Linked DNA regions of Homo sapiens: regions 1, 2, 3, 4, 5 and 7 are each linked to region 6. Evidence: promoter capture Hi-C in 16 types of primary human blood cells and fetal thymus (Javierre and others, 2016). All regions are on one chromosome and are shown on one strand. Each heading gives the region's core, a stretch centred on a gene start or on the middle of the fragment in contact. The rest is flanking DNA. Distances are from core to core; before and after follow the strand shown.

Region 1 (3,232 bases), core at 556-3,055, 230 kb after region 6:
GCAGGAAACCTGGTTTCTAATCCTGTCACTACCCAGATGGCTGTGTGACTTTAGGCAAATCACCTGGTGTCGCTGTGCTTTAGTTTCCTTCTTGCTGGAAGTAGATAGCAATACTCACCCAGACAGAAGAGACCACGGTAAAGATCAGCTGACGGCCTCTGTGGGAACAAAGACAGGGAAAGGGGAAATGAGTTCACCAGAAACCAACAGGCAGCACAGGAGGTATGAAAATTGCCTGGCTTTGTTTGATGGGACATTAGGGAAAAGTTGTGCCTAGACTTCCCTTATTAAAAACAAAACAAAGAAAAACTGGCGAGGGTCAAATGAGAATACAAATACAGTAAGTGCGGAAGTCTCGTGGGGGGCCTCAGGGCTGGGTGGCTCTCGTCACTTTGCCCAGTCTTGGCCTTGGCACTACTGGGATTTGGGACTGCATCACTCCCTGCCGTGGGAGGCTGTCTTGTGTACTGTAGGATGTTTAGCAGCATGCCTGGCCTCTACTCACCCCCTCAGTTGTGGAAACCAAAACCGTCTCCAGATGTTACCAAACGTTCCTGGGGGTAAAATCGCCCCTGGTTGAGACCGCTGAGTTAGCCACCAACAAGCCTTCTCTGAGCACCTACTCTGAGCCTAGCCCCATGATTTATCTGACACAGGTCTGGTTTGGAAGTTAAAGCTTACACTCAAAGAATAGCTAAAGAGGTTCTTGCTGCCAAGTAAGAGGGATGGTGATGGAGAGGGGAGCCTCAGAGGCCCTGGGCAGCCCTTGGGCTGGGTCCCAAAGGAGGAACAGGGGAGATTGGAATTGGCTGAGAGAGGAAGGGGGTGCATTTTTGGTGAGGGGAGCAGCCTCAACCAACACAAGGGACAGGTACAGATAGGGCCGCTTTGCAACATCAAGACTTCTTTGGCTATACTGGGTGGAGGGTGCGTGTGTTCCGGGGAACAGTGGGAGAGAAGGTTAAATAAATATTCCCGGTTGATCGTGGGACCCTGGGTCTGATGGGAGAACCCAGTTGTGTAACCCAGACTCAATACCAGTCTCCCACAAATCCTCCTTAAACCCTTCTCCCCTGGCCCCGTGGTCTTCACACCCCACACTCTAATGGGGCTGGGCTTGGACCACACCCATGGGTGGTTGGAAGCCCTCAAGACTCACCCTGACTGCCTGGAAGCATGCCTTACCTGGTAACTGGTTTTTCCTGCAGGTGGTAAACCCGAAAAAGAAAATGAAGAAAAAGAAATACGTGAATTCTGGCACAGTGAGTAGCCACCCCGGTCTCTGCAGCCGGGTGTAGACATTCTGAGCCCCAAGCTAGGTCTGGTATCAGGGAGGCCCGTGCGTCTGTGTGTGTGCAGGGGCTGAGCGTGGGAATCAGACATCCAAGAGAGATGGGGTGGGGAGGGGTGGGGCAGATGGAGCAACAGCCAGGGGAGAGAGTTGACTTGCAGACCACACAACAGGCGCTGGCTGTATCTAGCATGAGGAATCGCAGAGACATCCACGGGACTTCCTGCAGGAAGGAAGAGGAAGAGAAGTCGTATTTATTGGGCCCCTACCCTGGGAAATTCCCCACGTTGGTGCTTTTCACAGGTTGTTGCCCTGAGAGGCAGATATTATCATCCCCTAGTCATGAAAGAGGAAACCAAGGCTGCAAGCAGGAAAGTGACTCAGCCAAGGTCACACAGCTAGAAAGTGGTAGAGATGGGACTCAACATGACATCTCACTCCAGAGCTGGCAGCTGCTACGGGCGCTGCCCCTGCTTAACCGTGACCTTCCTGGGATGACACGCCGGCCTAGTGGCTTCTCGGGGCTGGTCTTGAGGACATTCATACGCTTCTTCAGCAAATACTTACTGAGTGCTACTGTGTGCCAGGCACTATTCTAGGCACATCAGATACAGCTGGAAACAAGACAGACCCAAATCCCTGGTGCTTATATTCTAGTGGGAGGAGACAGAGAAAAAAAAAAAACACACACACACACACACACATGCCTGTGTGTGTCAGTTGATTATGAGAGCTATGGAAAAAGTATAAAGGGTAAAGGGACAGGCAATGGAGGAAGTATTGAGGATACTGGGGAAAGGGAATTCCAGCATTCCTGCTGTAGAGAACAGCACATGCAAAGGCCCTGAGGTGGAGCTCACAGTGCATTTCTAGAACAAGCCACTTTCTCTGCAGTGCAAACACACCCAGATTCATCCTCTCTGTGTTCCTTCCTCACTCTAGAGGCCCATGGCTAGTGCAGCCAAGCCTGGTCATTTGAGTCAGGCAGACTGTATCTCCAGACCTAGAAGAGGTTTTCAGGAGCTCTGGGGTTCCTCTGAGAAGCCTCATTTTCTCCGTCTGTAAAGTAGGACTAATAAATCATCCCCACCTTGCCACTGCACAGGGCAGCTGTGACAGACACATGGGAGATGCAGGCTTGTGAACTGTAAAATTACTCTGCTCATTCAAAGGGGACTGAACACCACTTCTTTGATTGTAACTGCTTCACAGACTGGGGCTTGGAGTCATATTTCCTTTGTCCAAGGCTGCGGTGTTTCTTAGTGGAGAGGCTGTCAGCATTTGGGCAGGAAAATTCTTCATCTCACAGGATGTTTAGCACCCCTGGCTGCTGCCCATAGCTACCAGTAGAGCCCCAGTCATTATGAGAACCCCCAAAATTCTCCCACGCCTTCCTAAATTCCCCTAGGGAAGACAGCACCTTCCCCAGCTGGGAATAAAAAGGTTCAAAAACCACTGATCTCATCCAGCCTTCTTACTTTAGAGACGAAGAAACTGTGGCCTAGAGAGGGCATGCGATTTGTCCCAGGTCACACAGTGAGCTGGAGACAGAGCGGGCCTAGGCCCAGGTCTCTTGACTTTCCTTTTACTCCAGCATTTCCCCATCTTCATCGCGAAAAATCACCCGGGATGCAGAAAGCTTGCTGAAATACAGACGCCCAGGCCAGTTCCCTGGGATTCCACTTTAGGAGGCCCAGGAATCTGTGTTTAGTGCTTTTCATCCCTTACTTATGGTGTGCAGAATCCCCTGGGGATCTTGTGAAAATGCCAAGAATCTGCATTTCTGCATTTCTACCTGGCATCGAGGTGATGCTGACGCTCTGGTCTAGGGACACTACCCTTTGAATAGGGGAAAGTCTGCTTTCACCCTGCGAGCCCCTGGGTGAACCCATATGGTCAGGGCAGTTAGGGCATTGCTTCATCCTGGGGGTTGGAATGGGG
Region 2 (2,990 bases), core at 197-2,696, 210 kb after region 6:
GACTCTGTGACCAAAAAGCACTGTCAACCTGGGCAATCCTTGACCTGTCTGAGCCTGAGTTTCCTTATCTGTAAAATGGGTATTAAAATGTCTGCCTACTCTACAGGACTGCATTGACGCTCACACGACACAACCTACACAACGAGGCTCTGTTGTGCCTAAAATACCAAATTCAGCATCTCATCCACAAATGTTTAGGGAACCCCTGTCATGTACCAGGCACTGTGCTAGATGCTGGGAAATCAGCAGGGTGCAGTCTTCACCCTTCACCCAACCTAGTGGTGTTTACATGCCAGTAGGGGAGGCAGACATTAATCCAATAATCACACAAGGAAACATGTAATTATACATTGTAGCAAGCGCCGAGAGAGCGAGTGGGGCCACCACCCAAAATGGGAGCTGTGAGACTGTGTTGGTTTCTGTTGAGTCAGGAGAACCCATCCCTGTCTCCTGGTGATTGCTGCAGCTCAGGTGGGTGAGGTGGTAGGGGGCTCATGGGCAGGGCTCTCTGGACAGCTAAGAAAGCTGGGCCTCTGGGCCACTCCGACAGGAGCACTGGGGTGTCGAAACAGACACCTGGGGTCAGGCGTGGTGGCTCACGCCTGTAATCCCAACACTTTGGGAGGCTGAGATGGGCTTGAATCCAGGAGTTCAAGACCAGCCCGCGTAACATAGTGAGACCCCCATCTTTACAAAAAAAAATTTAAAAATTTAAAACTAAATTTAAAAAAATTAAAACATTAAAAAAAATTATCTGGGTATAGTGGCGCACATCTGTGGACCCAGCTACTCAGGTGGCTGAGGCAAAAGGATCACGTGAGCCCAGGAGTTCAAGGCTGCAATGAGCTATGATTGCACCACTGCACTCCAGCTTGGGATGCTGTCTCAAGAAAAAAAAAAGAAAACCTTAAAGACAAAAAAGAAAACAAACAAACAAAACCAGACACCTTGGGGCAGCTGGGAGCCTGAAAAGGCATGTTGAGGGGATGATCAGCAGATGAATGGCCTCCAGGCACCCCTGTTACACTCCGAAGAAACCCCCAGGCTGCCAGTTTGAGACATGAGCTTGTTCTTTTTCCTGCCTCTTGGCTGGGACAGAAGAGCCACAGTCTGTTCCACAGGTGGTCACTGAGTGCCTCCTGTGTCCCAGCGTGGCGCCTCTAGCTGTGCGGATTTAAACGAACAGGGTCGCCTTCCCATCTTTAGGGAGACTGTGGTCTGACCACAGGCAGCACAGATGTGCACATGTATTTTAGACAGATAAATAAGTGCACAAAATAAGACTGGGAACAAAGACGGTCTTAGCGCTGCAGTCAAACAAGCCTCTGTTACACATCTAGCTGGCTCCTGGGGCTTCTAGAGTGGGTGAGGGGATGAGAGGACAGGCTGGTTGGAGCAGTGAGAGGACGGGCTGGTTGGAGCAGTGAGTTCTAAAGAAGGCCCAGGAAAGGCTGGAAAGTCAGGGGTGGAGGATCCTGGGGACAGGGGCACGGGAATAAAGGGAGATGGAAACAAAGTGAGAGGAAATTCAAGGTAGGGGGATGGGAGAGTATGGCAGTTAAAGTCTCACAGGGCAGAAGGAATTGGGGATCCCTGGCCCAACTGACCCCTCACAACCCTGTATCTCTAGAGAGGAGCTCCCAGGGTTGCAGGAGCCAGCTTTGTCAGGGACAGTGAAAGGGGCAGCAGGGCTCGGAGGCCTGGCTTCACCACTGGGCCGTTGGAGGAGGTGGGTATTTATTTGGTGGGAGGGGCAGGCTCCCACCTCCCACTCTGAGGCAGAGCCTAGCCTCATCTCGCTGCAGGATGGCCCTCCCCCATGTCCAGAAGCAGATCTTCCATAATGTGACTGACAGTAGTGTTAATCAAGGAGGCCAGGGATGTCACTCTGGCTCCAAGAACGATCAGGCCTATCCCCCCGCCCCCCAGCCCCAGTGTAACCCACGCACCCAACAGACACTCAGGAGGTGCCAGTATCAGAAGGCCCTCCAGGGTAGGCAGGGGAGGGCCCTGTGCAGGAAAATGGGGCCACTGTCCCCTCCTTCCAAGACACCTCTTGGAGCCTCACAGAACGTAGTTGATTTAATTCAGCAGCCGTGTCTTCCAAGCCAGTCAGGCCCCAGGCACTGTGTTGGGTGCTGTGGGGGCCTATTGACCCAAGCCTCCCTCTTAGGTTGCTCCCAGGCCAGTGGGGAGACAGACAGGTCATGATAATAGCAAAGACTCCTATAGCACTTAACCATGGGCCAGGCCCTGCTCTAAGTGCTTTATGTATAGGAACTAATTTAATCCCCCCAACAATTAGCTCATTGCAAAGAGGTGCTGATGCTAGCCACATTTTACAGGTAAGGAGACAGAGAGGCCCTGAGAGATTAAGTCACTTGCCCAGTGTCTTGCTGCCAGCCGGTGGTAGAACCAGGATGTGGACCCCGGCAGCCTGGCTCTAGATTCTGTGTTGTTAATCCCTATGCACTGTTGCCAGATAGCCAAGACATGGCATGACAGGGCTGTGACCAGGGTGCATCTGGGGGAGGCTTACTAATGAGCACCTTGCTCAGGGGTTAGGGGCAGTTCTGCTTTCTGATTAGAGGTAGGGAAGCTGCTTGGATTGGTTTTAGTCCTCAAAGCATTAACGTCCTTCTGGCTTTAATACCAAATAATTCAGAGGGGAGAGGAGAGGGGAACAGCAAGAAGGAAGAGGAAGACCCAAAAGGCCTTGGTACCTGCCTGGGTAAGGGAGTGAAAGAGGGGAAGGGATAATGGTTCAGCGTTTGAGGGCAGGAAAAGGTGGCACCACCGACAGAAATGGGCAGTGTGATCGGCAGCCAGATTCTTACTCACAGATTTGTGTTCCGCAGTTCTTTTCACAGCCTATCTGAAACCCATTTTTAAAAAAATTATCCTTCTTAAGTTATAAAGATTATGTTTGTTGTTTGAAAACGAGCTGCTGCTGTTGAGAGGTTGGGGAAAGAGAGGTAAACTTGGTTTCA
Region 3 (2,893 bases), core at 25-2,524, 200 kb after region 6:
GCTCCCAGAGCCTCCGTTTTCCACCTGCAGCTTGGCGCTGATAGGGTTGCTGTGAGGATTAAAGGAGTTCATGAATGTGAGTGTGTCTAACAGATGCCTAGGAAAGGGTGCATCTGAATTCCTTGAACCTAAATTCAGTGTTTCCCCAAGCTTCTAGCCCAGCTGGTGACTTTCTTCCTAGTTTATAACCAAATAAAGTCACATACATGAAAGCGCTTTGGAAATTCTAACGCTCTAGACAATGCTGGTGGCCGTTACTGGTCTAGCATTCCAGGGGTTGGTAAGCAGTCTTAGGTTGAATACCTATCAGGTGTTAAACCCTTCCTCTTCCTCCTTCTTCCCCAGTCCTCCCTACTCCTTCACCCAGGGATAGCAGCAGTTTTCTTGATTTAAGCTGTTCCAGCACCAGGGGTCTATGTCGGGGGCAGGGAGCGCCCTCCCTTCCTCCTGAGATTGTCAGCTCCTTTTCTTCTGGGGCATCTTTAGCTGAGTTCTGTCTCTCCCTAGAATCCTTGCAAGGAAAAGAGACTAATTCCCAGCATCTGGCTGAATTAAAATAATTACATCTGAACAGCTTTGCTTCGTCTTTCCAGCTCAGCATTCAGTGGGAGGATCAAAGGAAGAGGGTGGGGTCTGAGAGATGATTTTTCACCAGAGCAGGGCTTCCTGCTCAAATGAATACATTTTGCCGAAGTAGACAAACCCTCTCTTCATCCATGGGGATGACGTGGGCGGGTGGGAACCAGCAAAGGATGACAGTGGACTCCAGTGTGTCACCAGCATAGTTTGACAGGTTATAGAAAAGCCTTGTTCATCTGGAATTTAAATGTCAAAGAAGTTCCCACAATCAGAATTTGATCCAAATACTATCGAATGGTACTTGATGTTGACAGTCATGAGGTTGGTCTCCCGAAGGGCCTTCTGAATCACCCAAGGTTCAATTCTGCTCAGCAGTAAAACGATTGTTACTGCCTGTAATACAGCAGTAAAACGATTGTTACTGCCTGTAATACTGGCCAACATTGGTTTACCGAGACCCTCTTATTTAGTCTTATTTGATTCTGACTGCAAGGCTGGGGGGCTGGGTGGGTGTGAGTAACCCTGTTTTACGGATGCAGAGAAGTTAGTGGTCTGCCTAAGATTGCTGGGATTCTAGCTCAGGCCTTGGAACTCCTAATCCTCAGTCTTTCCCTCACCCCTGGAGCCTCGAGCCCTCACGGTACAGGGAACAGTCACCGACCTTCTGTCCCTTGTGGGGCTACTGCCCTCAGCAGGCAGGGTGGCTTTGAGCAGTGGAGGTTGGGGTTCACGCCTATAATCCCAGCACTTTGCGAGGCTGAGCAAGGCAGGAGAATAGCTTGAGCTCAGGAGTTCGAGACCAGCCTGGACATCATAGTGAGACCCCCCCCCGACCATCTCTACAAAAAAATTTTTTTAAATTAGCAGGGTGTGGTGGTGCACGCCTGTGGTCCCAGCTAATCAGGAGGCTGGGGTAGGAGGGTCACTTGAGCTTGGGAGGTCAAAGCTGCAGTGAACCATGATTGCACCAGTGCACTGAAGCCTGGGGAACAGAGTGAGACCCTGTCAAAAAAAAAAAAAAAAGAAAAGGTAGGGGTTGTTGTCAATACAGAGGGTTGGATAGCTCTTTGCCCTCCACTTCCCAGCCCCTTGGTTCCCCCTAGAGACCTGTCAGCCACCCAGACCTGCCTTGCTCTGGAGTCAGGACTTCCCGGCTCAGGATAGTACGTCTTTACCACCTCCTAGTCAGGTCCTTCCACCTGACTGGCCGTCCCAGCCAGGATGGTGGCGGTGGTCATGGAGGAGGCAGTGATGGAGGAAGAAGGGTGTGCCTCATCTCTCTCCTGCAAAGGGAGTTATAACTTCACACCATAACTGCCCCGGGGGCCTCCCCACCCCTTAGGTGTCACCAGCGTGCTCATGTATTCTTTCATTTCAGTTCAGGAAATATGCTTTGACTGAGTCCCTGCTGTCCCAGAATTTTTAATTTAGTATGAGAGATGGAAATGCCAACCGGCAATCACATGAGAGCAGTGGTCCTCAGCCCTGGCAGATCCAGCGCCTCTTCTTACAACAACTATTTTATCACACTCTTGACTATCCCGAAGGAAAATGTGTAGATACTATGTAATATGCCAATATATATAGACAGGTGGGAGAATGAACCCTTCCAGTTACCTGGGGAATATTGGTCCAAGCAGACAGAACAGCCAGTGCAAAGGCCCTGGGGCAGGAGTGATGGATGAGGAATCGGAAAGATGAGACTGTGGGTGGTGATGGTGGGAGTTGGGGCCAGATTGTGTGGGACCTCATAGCTGGGGAACTTAGCAGCCTGGATCCCAACACAATCAAAACTTTTGTTTTTCCAAAGATAAGCTTCAGGGAGAGGCCAGTTTCTCTACCTGAAAGATGAGGGAAGAAGGAAGAGCCATGGAGAAAGAGAGATGAGAAGGAAGAGTCAAAGTAAGTGGGGGAGGTGGTGAAGGTTCTCTGAGACTCGGAAGTATGCAGGTTGATACATAGGAGAGTCGTGTGTTGTGGCTGAGACCGATATGAGCATCCCGTGTAACCAGCATTCAAACATCACCCTTCTTAAGGTTAGTTTGAATTTTTTTGGTCTTAGAAATAATCTATCTGGCTTTTAAAAAGCCAAAACAAAGCAAAAGCATTTCTTCCTGATGCTAAAAAAAAATAACATATTCATTATGGACAAATTGGAAAATACAGAAAAATATAAACAGCATGGAAAAGTCACCCAGAGATAATCACTGTTGACATTTTGATGTGCTTCCTCCAAGGCTTTCTTGCTGAGTGTCCATGTACGTAATTTTTCTTATAATTGATATAATATAGTATCCAGTTTTATAGCCTGCCT
Region 4 (3,262 bases), core at 79-2,578, 250 kb before region 6:
TAACACTCCCATTGTGCAAATATGTAGCAGTTTATTCATCCTGAAACCATTCTTTACTGAAGTGCCTATAACATTCTTATTGATTTTCTCTTTTCTGGTTATTAACTGGTCTAATTCTGTTACATTCAAGCTTTGCATATGATTCTAGCAGTTTTCCAATATCCTTTTTAATGTCTGCATGAAGTCCTGAATCTTCTGCAAGACTTGCAATAATTTCTTGCAAACGACTTGCCTTGTGTTGTGTGTTGTCAGATATTTACAGTGGGCTACCAGAGAGAGGCTGACCAATAAAGATTTTGACTTGATGGGGTCTTGGTGCACACAGAGAGCCCTTCATTTCAGCAAGGAGGAATGTTGCAGGACTGAGGGAGGCAGAGAATGTCAATTCACTTGTGAATATTTTCTTGTCATGATGACTTTTGTTTCCCTGGGCAACCTGGCAAATGCGGGAACTTTGATTGTGAACACTCAGATACTCAGAAGTCCCTACATCTTGGCAAATTCTTTAACACTTCTCCCACAAAAGGTAGAATCTAATTCCTCTCCCCTTGAATATGGCCTTGGTGACTCACTTCTAAAGAATAGTGTCCAGGAAACGTGTTGCTATGGGACTTCTGAGGCTAGAATAAGAAAAGGTGATACAGCTTCCATCTGGCTTGCTCTTTTTGGGACACTCATTCTGGAGAAGCCAGTCATCAGGCTGTGAAGGAGCCCAAAGGAGCCCACACAGAGAGACCATGGAGAAGCCCACATGGATGGGCACTGAGGCCTCCAACTGACAGCCAAGAGCAATCGCCAGGCATCTGAGTGAGTCTTCTAGGAGAGGCTACAAAGTTTGAGGAGAAGTAGCAAGTCATCCTGGACATGCCCTGTCTAAATTCCCCACAATGTACAAAATTAAGCTAACTGTGCTCTGTCTGAAGTCCTCACCCACAGAATCCATTCACATAATAAATGGTTATCTTATGCTACTAAGTTTTGGGGTAATTTGTTATAGAAATTAATAAAATTAGTAAAAAAAAAAATAGTACTGGCACATCCAATTTAAAGATGAGCAAACTGAGACTTGGAGAGAATAAATTCACAGTAAATGGTGAAGCCAAGATTGAAGCCTGGGCATTTGACTTGCAAATTTGCGGATCTCAACCTTGATACCCTCCCTATAATGGCCTATTATTCCCTTGCATTTTCAGGATATCCTTGGTTACTCAGAACACAACTAATTAGCTTACTCTCCCACCCCAGGATTGAACCTGGGAGGGCAATGCTACCACCAAAAAAATACACATGCTCATACTCTAAAAATAACCCACTCAGAAAGGGTTAAACTGAGCTGCAGATTGGCAAATGATAAATGCTTAGTTCAGGGCCTAAAAAACAAAGAGTATTTAAAAATAAATGGCCAGGCACAGTGGCTCATGCCTGTAATCCTAGCACTCGTGGGAGGCAGAGGTGGGAGAATCACTTGAGCCCAGGAGTTCAAGACCAGCCTGGGCAACATAGTGAGACCATGTCTCTGTTTTTTTAAATTGTTTTTAAATTAAAAATAAAATAAACACTACACACTTTTTTCAGTTCAAACACGATGATGTTAAAGTGGGATGAAAGGATAAAAATCAGCTTTATTTTACAATGTTTTGTTATGGTAATGATTTTTTATTTATCTAGCTTTATTTTTCTAGTATGAATATTTTAAACTCTACATAAAGATATTGCTGTGGTTTGAATGTGTTTGACCCCTCCAAAATTCATGTGTTGAAACTTAATCCCCATAGTGGTGGTATTAAGAGATAGGGACTTTGGGGAAGGGATTAAGTCATGAGGGTTCCTTCAAAATGGGTTAGTGCTTTATAAAAGGACTAGAGGGAACTAGTTTAGGTCCCCTTGCCCTTCTACTTTCCTCCCTGTGAGGACACAGCAACAAGGCGTCATCTTGGAAGCAGAGAGCAGTCCTCACCAGACACTAATGCCAGTGCCTTGATCTTGGACTTTCCAGCCTCCAGAACCATAAGAAATACATTAGGCCAGGCGTGGTGGCTCACGCCTGTAATCCCAGCACTTTGGGAGGCCAAGGTGGACGGATCACAAGGTCAGGAGATCGAGACCATCCTGGCTAACATGGTGAAACCCCATCTCTACTAAAAAATAGAAAAAATTAGCCAGGCGTGGTGGCGGGTGCCTGTAGTCCCAGCTACTCAGGAGGCTGAGGCAGGAGAATGGCGTGAACCTGGGAGGCGGAGCTTGCAGTGAGCCGAGATGGCACCACTGCACTCTAGCCTGGGCGACAGAGCAAGACTCTGTCTCAAAAAAAAATAATAATAAAAGAAATACATTTGTATTCTTTATATATTACCCAGTCTGTGGTGTTCTGTTATAGCAGCATAAATGGTCTAAGACAGATATCTTTAATTTAAAACAATTTAAAATGTTGCCAACATTCCAAGATGGAATTGGAATCACTTCCAATTGTGTAGTATTTGAAGTAATATATCATTTCCAGAAATTTTCACAAGTAAAAAAAGCTTTGTTCTATCCCCAGCTACTTCTCATGATAATGTTTTTAGCTCATGGTTTAGACTATGACAGAGTTATCCAGCTGTCCTTCCACATTGCCAGCTTTAACCATTTTGCAGTTAAGAAGATACTGTGTTTTTTAAAAAGCCACACCAGCATAAGGGTAGCCAGTGGGATTTATTTAATGATCTGGGTTTATTAGGAATTCATGAAATAATTATATTTTCATAAATTTATTTTTATTAAAATTGTGCATGGGTGTGTAATATTAATATGTAAACCTTATAATAAAACCAGCATTTCTCTTTTCTTCCTTCCCTATCCCTATTCATACTTTTCACAGGTAACCACTTTCAGTTCTTCTATTTCCCCTCCTATTTATCTCTTTATCTCAAAATTACATGTGTATACCGATATTTATTTTATTTTCTTTTTTTTGAGATGGAGTCTCACTCTGTCGCCTAGGCTGGAGTGCAGTGGCACCATCTCGGCTCAGTGCAACCTCTGCCTCCTAGGTTCAAGTAATTCTCTTGCCTCAGACTCCTGAGTAGCTGGGACTACAAACACAAGCCACCACATCTGGCCAGATGTGGACTTCTTATCCTCTACACACACACTCACTGCCATTCCTCCCAAACTCTTAACTGTATCATCACTAGTGGCTATATCAAGATTACAACTTCATAAGCACAGGTACTCCTCAACTTACGATGAGGTTATGTCCCAATAAACCCATAAGTTGAAAATA
Region 5 (3,131 bases), core at 381-2,880, 220 kb before region 6:
CTCATCTTCCTGACCTCCAAACACCGGAGTGCCCTTGGCACAGTCCTTGGTCTTGTTCTCTGTCTCACTCACTCCCAGCTCACCTGGTCCAGACCCATCACTAATAAGCCCCATATACATCTTCAGCCTGGACTTCTCCCCTAAACCCTGGCTTTGTTTATGCAGTTGCTTCCTTGATGTGGTAGCCAGCTCTAACATGGTTCCCAGAGATCTCTGCGAACTGATATTCACATTCATCACCTCTTCTTAGATGTGGGCAGGACCCAGTGATCCTCTTCTAGCAAAGAGAACATAGCAAAAGCGATGGGTTGTCCTTTCTAAGGTTAGGTTACAGAAGACGATGACGTCAGTGCTGCCCGCTCTCTGAGGGAAGCTGGCTATCATGTTGAAAGTATCTTTATGGAAAGGCTCACACTGCCAGGAGCAGAGGTCACTAACCAAGAGCCCGTGAGGAACGGAATCCTACCAACAGCCCCATGAGGGAGCTTGGAAGCAGATCCTCCCCTACACAACTCTTTTTTTTTTTTTTAAATACAATATGGGGTCTCCCTATGTTGCCCAGGCTGGTCTTGAACTCCTGGCCTCAGGCTATCCTCCCACCTTGGCTTCCCAGAGTGCTGAGATTATAGGCATGAGCCACCATACCCAGTCAGGATATGTTTTGGGGTGGTTACTGTTGTAGAGACATTTTTGTAGAGATGTGACATGTACTAGTTATCTATTACTGCATAACAAATTACCCCAAAATTAGCAGCTTAAGACAGTACATTTATTCTGTCTTAGTTTCTGCGGTCAGGAGTCCAGACACAGCTCACCTGGTTCTCTGACTCAGATTCTCTCAGGGTCTCACTCAGGATGTCTCTACTTTTATTTGATTTTTAGAGACAGGGTTGCACTCTGTCACCCAGGCTGGAATGCAGTCGTGCAATCATAGCTCACTGGAGCCTTGAACTTCCAGGCTCAAGCGATCCTCCCACCTCAGCCTCCTGAGTAGCTGGGAATACAGGTGTGCCACCGCATCCAACTGATGTAAAAAAATTTTTTTTTTTAATTTTCTTAAAATGTGGGAATGTAGCCGGGCATGGTAGCTCACGCCTGTAATGACAGCACTTTGGGAGGCTGAGGCGGGTGGATCACCTGAGGTCAGGAGTTCAAGACCAGTCTGGCCAACATGGTGAAACCTCCTCTCTACTAAAAATACAAAAATTAACCGGGCATGGTAGCAGGTGCCTGTAATCCCAGTTACTCAGGAGGCTGAGGCAGGAGAATTGCTTGAACCTGGGAGGTGGAGGTTGCAGTGAGCTGAGATCGCGCCACTATACTGCAGCCTGGGCAACAAGAGCAAAACTCCATCTCAAATAAATAAATAAATAAATAAATAAATAAATAAAAATTGGGGAGTGTATCCCAATCCACACTCCTGATTTTCTCCCGTATACCTTGCCCTAACCCCCAGTCTTTGCCACCTCTACCCTTCCATTGCTCAAGTTAAAGACCCAGCAGGCATCCTTAGGTCCTCTCTTTCTCTCAGCCTGAATCTAACTCCTCACCACTCCCCATCAGCCCACCCTTCAATATAGATCCATATCCAACCACTTCATATAACCTCCCCTGCCACCTCCCTGGCCCAGGCCATCACCATCTCTTGCCCAGGCTATTGCAGTAGCAGTTCCTGACTGGCCTCCCCATGCCACTGTGTTCCCTTTACAGTCAGTTCTCCGCCCAGCCACCAGAGGGCTCCTGTTGAAACCTGAGTCAGATCAAGTCCCTCCTCTACTCCGGTCCTCACCTGCCAGGGCTCCCCACCACACTCAGGGTAGAAATCCCAAGTCTTTACCACGGCATGCCAGCTGCTAAATAACCCAGTCCCTTGTCACCCTCTGATCTGCTTTCTAACCATTTTGTTCTCTCCGCCTCCCTCTGCTGCAGCCATGCTGTCTTCCTTTCGTTCACCCTAACACAGACAGCACACTCCAGCCTCGGGGCCTTTGCACTCACTGTGCCTTCCGCCTAGAATATTCTTACTCCAGCTATTCACCAGCTTCCTTTCTTGCTCAGAAGGCATCAGAGAGGCCTTCCCTACCAATGGGTGTGAAACAGCCCCTCCCTACCATCCCATGTGTCTCTTTCCCACTTACTGTGCTACATTTCTTCATAACATGTACTATCACCTGACTTACTCTATACAGTTGCCTCTCCCACCACCCTCCAAAAATGTGGGCACCATATTTACTTCACTGATGTTTTCCCAGCACCTAGTTCAATGCCCAGCATGTAGCAGGTGCTTGATAAAGATTTGTGGAATGAATGGACATAGACTCTCAGTTTTGTTTTTGTTTTGGAGACAGAGTCTCTGTCGCCCAGGCTGAAGTGCAGTGGCACCATTGTGGCTTAGTGCAACCTCCGCCTCCTGAGTTCAAGCGATTCTCCTACCTCATCCACCTGAGTAGCTGGGACTACAGGTGCCCACCACCACTCTGGGCTAATTTTTGTATTTTTAGTAGAGATGGGGTTTCACCAAGTTGGCCAGGCTGGTCTTGAACTCCTGACCTCAGGTGATCTGCCCAAAGTGTTGAGATTACAGGCATGAGTCGCCACGCCCGGCCTATGAGAGGCAAATTATTACTGTTCTTTCAGCCTCCTGTTCCTACTCCTTTCTTCTCTCATTCAATTCTGCAGTCTCTGGTGAAGAATCTAGACACAGGTAGGAAAATACCGACAAAGGATACGATTTCAGCCCCTTATTCCTTTCCTCCTTTCCCAGTCCTGTTCCCTTACACCAACTGCTGCCACTAGAATCACCACCTCATCTCCCAGCTCCATCTCACCAAGTGGAAAACAAGTCTTTCTAACAGTGCAGGTGTCCCCGGGAAGAGCAACACTCTTAAGGGCTGTCACCCACCCCTGACACTTTCAGTCCGTGAAGATCCCCCAGCCTTCCGTCCTACTTTTCTTCATACAGTTTATTACTGTGTTGCAGACCGTGAATTAGGAATTGAGGAATACCTGGGGAAGCAAGACACAGCCCACATTCCAAGGGGCTCCCAGCCTAGCGAGGGGCCAAGCCACTTAGGCTATCTGGACCCAGGACGATAGGTGCTAGAGGAAGCACTGGGGGCCGCAGGAGGGGG
Region 6 (3,110 bases), core at 324-2,823:
GAGAAAAATGGGGACGAAAAGCCCAAAGAAGGAAAAGGTTCCTGTGAGGAAGTTTCAGAAGGATGGGGAAGTAAATCATCCTCCCCTACCCCCACCCCCCACCCCCAAACTAAAACCTATCGCCTCTTCTGGGTAGAGAGTTAGTGTGGCACTAGGAACTTGACTTTGAGGTCCTTATTGAGAAAGCTAAATCAGAACCTAGGCAAAAGGAAGTCATTTAAGGTGCTCCTGGGGGATGTTTGATGAAAATTGTGTTTGATGGAGAAAACACAGCAAGTTGAAAGGGTTAGCAGGCTTTGCAAGTGATTTCACTAGGACAAGCCTGGGTTAGGGAGGCCAAGGTGAGGGAGAGAGGGAGTGTGGCATGCTTTGAACGTGGAAAGTACATAGTGTTCATTATCAGGAGTGGGAAGAGGGGAGGTAGCTTTTTAGGGGGTAAGGCAGGAAGGGAGTTAGAAAGGACAGACTGGGAAACCCGGACTAACAGTGGCAGGTGTCGATCTAAAGAAATTTCTCACAATGAACTGGCTATAGACTAAGTACAGACAAAGGGACCAGGTCTTCCATTGCTGTGTCCCTGCACACTCTAGGATCCGTTCAAACAGAAACTTTTATTGCGAACCCCCAAAACTAGCACGGTTCTGTTGTAGGTGTTGTTGCAGAGTGTCGGGCACGTTTACAAACAGGAACAGGGCACTTGCTGTCCTATCTTCCTCGCAGGGTTCTTGTGACGATTACACTTAAATCAACACGTATAAAGCATTTTAAAAAGTGCCTGTCACATAGTCCCTGCAATTTAAGGTCTAGTTGTGATTATTCACTTGTATTAACTAAGAATCAACTACAGGCGCCTAGCAGTGCCTGCATGTGCTCACACTGAGGCACTCACTAAAACCCTCAGGATCTAGTGAGGGAGACAGTCAAATACTTTAGAGCAAAACAAATTTTACAACCACGGACTCTGAGGAAGGCGTGCGAAGGCTCCACAGCTGGGGAGGGTGCCCACAGTCGCCGAGGGGACATCTGGATTTGCTCTGGTTGGGAGAGCATTCCTGGCAGAGGAGATGGAAAATGCGATCGGACAAAGAGGCTGGGACCGCGGAGGGGATCGGGCTCGGGGTCGGGGCTCGTCCTGCAGCAGGAGATTCAGCTCGCGCAGAGTTCCACGCAGGCCGCGGCGACTGGGATCTGGGCCGCAAAGGGGCGGGCAGAGAACTGCAGAGAAAACTCCCGAAGCCAGGGAGGTGGCTTGGAAGCGCCTCAGACCATATTGGGGACGTCTGGCAGCCAGAGGCGCCGAACCCCGCCCCCGCGTGCTCTGGGCATCCCGGGGGAGCGCCCCGGCCTGCGGCTGCCGCCACAGCTCCCGAGCCCGGGGCCCCGGCTGCCCGCCACCATTGACCCCCGGCCCGCAGCCCAGTGTCCTGCTAGGCCTCCAACCGGCCGGGGAGCCACATCCGGCGTGTCCCACCCGCCGCACCACGCTCCCGAGCTCCCCCGCGGCCTGGAGTGGTGCGCCCCGGCCCCGCCCCCTGACGCCGGTGAGGGGGCGTGGCCCCGTCACGTGACGGGGAGTGACCTCGCCGCCGGGCGCCATGGGAGCTTCGGACCCGGAAGTGGCGCCCTGGGCTCGCGGCGGTGCCGCGGGGATGGCGGGAGCCGGAGCTGGAGCCGGAGCTCGCGGCGGAGCGGCGGCGGGGGTCGAGGCTCGAGCTCGCGATCCACCGCCCGCGCACCGCGCACATCCTCGCCACCCTCGGCCTGCGGCTCAGCCCTCGGCCCGCAGGATGGATGGCGGGTCAGGGGGCCTGGGGTCTGGGGACAACGCCCCGACCACTGAGGCTCTTTTCGTGGCACTGGGCGCGGGCGTGACGGCGCTCAGCCATCCCCTGCTCTACGTGAAGCTGCTCATCCAGGTGGGGGACCAGAGGCGCCGTAGGGAGATGGGAGGCTGATGTGAAGGTGACAGGCCAGGATTTGGAGGATTGGGGCGGGCAGTCAATGGCGACGGATTTGGGGAGAGGGGTGGGGACGGCGGGTTTGGGGGGCCGAGTGGGTGGGATGGGAGGGAAGCCGTGAGGGAGTTGGGAACGCAGGGGTCACGGGTTTTAGGATACAGAAAGGAGACCAAGGGGTTAGAGTAATAACAGATACGGGAGAGGGTGGAAGGAACAAGCGATTTGGGGGAGTGCCAAGGAGGGAGCGATGGGCTGGAAAAACATATTTGGGAGATAAAGGAGTGGGGACGATGGACTTGGGATAGGGAAGGGAGCGAATTTGGGGCGAGGGAAGAAGCAATAGAATTGGGGGAGGGGCAAGAAGTTTGGGTGAAGAGATGGGGAGGAAGGTTGGGGGCCCAGGCAAAGTGTTTAGAGAATGAGGAGCACATAATTGGGGTAGAGGGGAACGGAGGCTCTGGATTTGATAGAGATGGATTTAAAACGTCTTGGGGTGGGGACAAAGTGGGCGCCAGGGCCAGAAATTTAGGAGGGAAAGAAGGACACCAGACTGGGGGTGGACAGAGGAGACGGAGGTCTTGGGTTGCATTGTGATTTAATTTGGTGGGAGAGTGCGAAGGCAAAGACTTTTGCAGGGGAATGCTATCGGTTTACCGGAGATGGGGGCTCTGGATTTGATGGCGACGACGGATTTGGTAGGAGGAGGGGACAGGGTGACGCGTATGGGGGGAGGGGAACAGATAGGGCCAGCATTGGGGGAGGGGAGTGGCAGCGATTTGTCTAGAGAGGGGAGCTAGGAGGAGGCTTTAAGCGGGGAAGGGGGATGACGCATTTGGAGGAGGAAATGGAAGTCATAGTTGGGGTCAGAGAGAGGAATCACAGTGCTTGTATCTGGGCAGATGAGGAGAAGGGGCACGGGAGTATTGAAATTGGGCAGAAGGGACAGTGGAGACATAGGTGGCAGGATAGGTAGGGACTACCAGAAATTGAGACCGAGGTAGGGATGTCTCTGGAACAGAGGGATGCATAGGCACTTGGCAGATTTGGTGGTGGCCAGCAATGCGGTACAGATGAAGTGTGCTGCTTGAGGAGTGAGCTGGAATGAAGGGCGTGTGGAGGTGTGAGAATTAGGTGGGTGTGGCTGGGATGGGT
Region 7 (3,088 bases), core at 6-2,505, 170 kb after region 6:
ATAAGACTGTGGTGGGCATGAACACAGGGGATCCAGTTCGTTCAATGCCAAGAGTTTAAATCTGAAAAGAAATAACCCTCTGCCTGCCTGGCCTTGAGCCCAATTTAGGATCCCTGGTGACCTGGCCTTGGTCATTCCACATAGACCATTATCTAAAGATACAAAGGAATGAGTGGACCATCAGCATTGCTAAGGCACAAAGCGGAAGGCAGGCCTCTCTAAGAGGTGGACTCCAAGGCAAGCTTGGGGTAGGCTTTCTGGACTCTCTCCTTTTTGCAGAGAAGTCTGCCTCTGCAAAGAGAGGTCCCTCCTGAGCCTTAGGTCACTTGGAAAGCCTTTAGTGGCCTTTGCTCTTGTCATGCAGCTGAATTTTCAGGGCTCTGACTCCCCGTGATCAGGGTTAGGCAGTCCAGGACCAAAGCTTTACTTTAGGGACTAGATGGGTCTATGGCCACCTACTCACAGTCTTAGGGTCAGGGCTTTAAAACCTGCTTTGACACAGTGAGGTGCTGTCTGGGATGTCCCTTTGAATCCTGACTTTGCCACTTTCCTTAACCTCTCTCTGAGCCTTAGTTTTTTTCATCAATAAAATGGGTTCCCAATGCCTGCTTAGTGGACTGTGGTAGGGACCACATGGCAGAATCACTTAGCAGTGCCTGCCTGTGCTCAGGACCTGTAAATATTCTTTTTATTATTAAACAGTACCATCAGGCAAGCTGTAAAGAGGCTCTATCCCTTTCCTTCCCCTCCTTAAATAAGAGGGTGACTGATATGCCTTCTACCCTGTACAGTCTCCACATCAGCAGCACCCCATTATCTCCCTTGGCCCTCACCACACCCAGATGAGGAAGCAGAGCTCAGAGGGATCCTGGCTTTGCCCAGCAACACAGCTAGGAAGTGGCAGAGCTGGGATGTGAATGTGGTTTTCCGAGTCGGAGTCCCTGGTCTTCTCCTCTGCCCAGGCCACTGACTTTCAAAGTGGGCTTTTCTTGTTTGTTTGTTTTTGAGACGGAGTCTCACTCTGTCGCCCAGGCTGGAGTGTGGTGACACAATCTCGGCTCACTGCAACCTCCACCTCCTGGGTCCAAGCAATTCTCCTGCCTCAGCCTCCCGAGTAACTAGGATTACAGGCATATGCCACCACCCCCAGCTAATTTTTGTATTTTTCGTAGAGATGGGGTTTCACCATGTTGGCCAGGCTGGTCTCAAATTCCTGAGCTCAGGAGATCCGCCCACCTCGGCCTCCCAAAGTGCTGGGATTACAGTCATGAGCCACTGCGCCCAGCCCAAAGTGTGCTTTTCTATCCCCAGGATTTGAGGGTGGCAGCTCCAGGATCCACCGTGAATATGTGTGTAGCCCCTGCCTCCCTTTCCTCCTTCAAGCAGAGGTGTTCATTATTTCTGTGTAATACATTAGACATGAGCCTGAGATTTCATTTGAAGAAAGGAGTTGGCTTTTCTAATAAACCCTGAGTTCTAGGCCAGGTCCCCTGGTGGCTGATAGATCTATTTGCTTTTCAGTGTTAGTGTCCAGGTGCACTCTACAGTTGTGGCTGAGCTGTTGAAAGTGTGCACTCCAAAGTCAAGTTTAAAAATGGGCCCACCACCTGCCCAGGTGGGGGATCTTGGCCAAGCACTTAGGCTCACAAGCCTACTGTGAGGAGTAAATAAGCTAATTCGTGTAAAGTGCCTGGCCTGCAGAAAAAGCTCAATAATGGCTCTTCTTATAAGAAGCCCTAAGTAAGAAACCAATGCTTTATCTGGAGGAAGGAACCATTGACAGTATCATTTCAGACATCGTGATGCCATTTGGCAGGAGCTATCGATGTTTTGGAGTGAGCTGGGGGACAAGTCCCAGGGCCCCCTCCATGATGCTTGGCTTCCTTTAGGGTGGGGACTGCTCAGGCCCCCCACCCTCTACAGTCAGACCCGGGGCTAGAAGGCTGGGGGTGGGGACAAGGTGGTGGAGAGTGTTTTGTTGGCAGCTTGGCAGCCAGGCTCATTGGTAAAGGGTCGTTCCCCGTTCCCCGAGGAGCTGGGATGATTGAACAGATTATCTGAAACAATGGCTAATTAGGAACTAAGCTTTTTGGCAGGAAGTCTTTCATTCTAAGCTTGGTAAAGTTTCATACCCTGACCCTGGTCTCTGGGCGAGATAGGGAGGCTTCTCTGACCAGGCTTGAGAACAGGGAGGCCTTTAGAGCCTGGGCTTCCCTAACTCAGGGCCCCTGTCTCCACCTCTGCCCTGCCTTACCTGGAAGCCTTAACAAAACAGGCAGCCATTTGGGAGGTCACCAGGCCTACGAAACGAAAGGTGCCAAGGTCATGGCTCACTCCCTGTAATTTTAGGCAAGCCCCATCTCTCTCTGGGCCTGGTTTTCCTCACTGCAACGAGGAGGGGTGGCCACAGAATTCTGGACTCCTTCAGTGACAGAACCAGAGAGAACTTTCCAGACCCAAGATGGTGCAGGCCTGGCATGGCCAGATCCTCCGTGCTCCTCCGCCTCCCCAGGCCCTCCTTTCCTGTCCCCAGATCTCAGGCCACTCTTCCCAGCCACTGGGCGCCCCCACCTGGCTCCTATTCCCAGGGCCAGCCTTGGAAAGCACATTCCCTTTTTCCGTTTCTATTTGAGTCAGGTAGCTTTCTGGCCTCTAATTTTAATCCTAGTGAACATGATTCATGAGGGGCCAGGGCTGGGCTCTGCAGCGAGGCTTTTAGAATCCCCAATTAAGGAGCCATCAATAATATATGAAAAGTATTGAGGGATCTACGGCTGGGGAAGGGTGAGCAGCTTGTGAGGTAGACAGCAGTCTGTCAGCTCCAGCCTCCTATCCCACCGGCACAGCCCCTGGGGGCTTTGCAGCTGGGGGATGGCTCCGAAGCTCAATCCAGCTGTAATTTGTAAAAAGGCAAGAGCTGCCTAAATCCAGGGCCATGAAGATTGTTCAGGCTTGCAGAGAGCCACCCACGCATGCCTGAGGTAGGGGCTGTGGTGAGCACCAGGGATGCTCTGCCTTTCTCACTCCTGAGAGTCCCGGCCCTTCCTCGCCCACCATGGGTTGCCTCTGGGAGGGCTTCTCTGGCCTC

What was found. Contacts are between HindIII fragments. The CHiCAGO score rates a contact against its expected background, and 5 or more counts as called.
Region 1: a fragment that was not itself captured here is called in contact with the fragment with the promoter of MTCH1 in region 6 in 1 of 17 cell types (endothelial precursors); the score reaches 6.0 in endothelial precursors.
Region 2: a contact is called between a fragment that was not itself captured here and the fragment with the promoter of MTCH1 in region 6, in 1 of 17 cell types (erythroblasts). The highest score is 5.1, in erythroblasts.
Region 3: a fragment that was not itself captured here is called in contact with the fragment with the promoter of MTCH1 in region 6 in 1 of 17 cell types (endothelial precursors); the score reaches 5.3 in endothelial precursors.
Region 4: a fragment that was not itself captured here is called in contact with the fragment with the promoter of MTCH1 in region 6 in 2 of 17 cell types (activated CD4 T cells and total CD8 T cells); the score reaches 6.0 in activated CD4 T cells.
Region 5: a fragment that was not itself captured here is called in contact with the fragment with the promoter of MTCH1 in region 6 in 16 of 17 cell types (naive CD8 T cells, megakaryocytes, fetal thymus and 13 more); the score reaches 12.1 in naive CD8 T cells.
Region 7: a contact is called between a fragment that was not itself captured here and the fragment with the promoter of MTCH1 in region 6, in 1 of 17 cell types (megakaryocytes). The highest score is 5.5, in megakaryocytes.

Annotation. Positions count from the first base shown.
Region 1 is chr6:36,754,275-36,757,506 of GRCh38, reverse strand. It overlaps CPNE5 (copine 5), which reads left to right. Exons shown (of 21, transcript NM_020939.2): 13 at 1,209-1,262. Among named protein-coding and RNA genes, the nearest start is that of RAB44, 58 kb to the right of the region's middle. RefSeq lists an enhancer at 946-2,145. The HindIII fragment of the contact is 2,254 bases long and covers 679-2,932 here.
Region 2 is chr6:36,770,767-36,773,756 of GRCh38, reverse strand. All of the region lies in intron 10 of CPNE5 (copine 5), which reads left to right. Among named protein-coding and RNA genes, the nearest start is that of CPNE5, 67 kb to the left of the region's middle. RefSeq lists an enhancer at 1,340-1,839. The HindIII fragment of the contact is 8,826 bases long and covers 1-2,990 here.
Region 3 is chr6:36,786,744-36,789,636 of GRCh38, reverse strand. All of the region lies in intron 8 of CPNE5 (copine 5), which reads left to right. Among named protein-coding and RNA genes, the nearest start is that of CPNE5, 51 kb to the left of the region's middle. The HindIII fragment of the contact is 2,244 bases long and covers 153-2,396 here.
Region 4 is chr6:37,234,426-37,237,687 of GRCh38, reverse strand. All of the region lies in intron 1 of TMEM217B (transmembrane protein 217B), which reads left to right. All of the region lies in intron 1 of TMEM217 (transmembrane protein 217), which reads left to right. Among named protein-coding and RNA genes, the nearest start is that of TBC1D22B, 22 kb to the left of the region's middle. The HindIII fragment of the contact is 2,392 bases long and covers 133-2,524 here.
Region 5 is chr6:37,206,801-37,209,931 of GRCh38, reverse strand. No RefSeq gene overlaps it. Among named protein-coding and RNA genes, the nearest start is that of PIM1, 38 kb to the right of the region's middle. The HindIII fragment of the contact is 4,608 bases long and covers 1-3,131 here.
Region 6 is chr6:36,984,659-36,987,768 of GRCh38, reverse strand. It overlaps MTCH1 (mitochondrial carrier 1), which reads left to right and starts at 1,573. Exons shown (of 12, transcript NM_001271641.2): 1 at 1,573-1,916. The coding sequence starts at 1,596. RefSeq lists enhancers at 969-1,178, 1,297-2,019 and a silencer at 1,269-1,858. The HindIII fragment of the contact is 16,171 bases long and covers 1-3,110 here.
Region 7 is chr6:36,810,021-36,813,108 of GRCh38, reverse strand. All of the region lies in intron 3 of CPNE5 (copine 5), which reads left to right. Among named protein-coding and RNA genes, the nearest start is that of CPNE5, 28 kb to the left of the region's middle. RefSeq lists a silencer at 1,917-2,085. The HindIII fragment of the contact is 1,664 bases long and covers 424-2,087 here.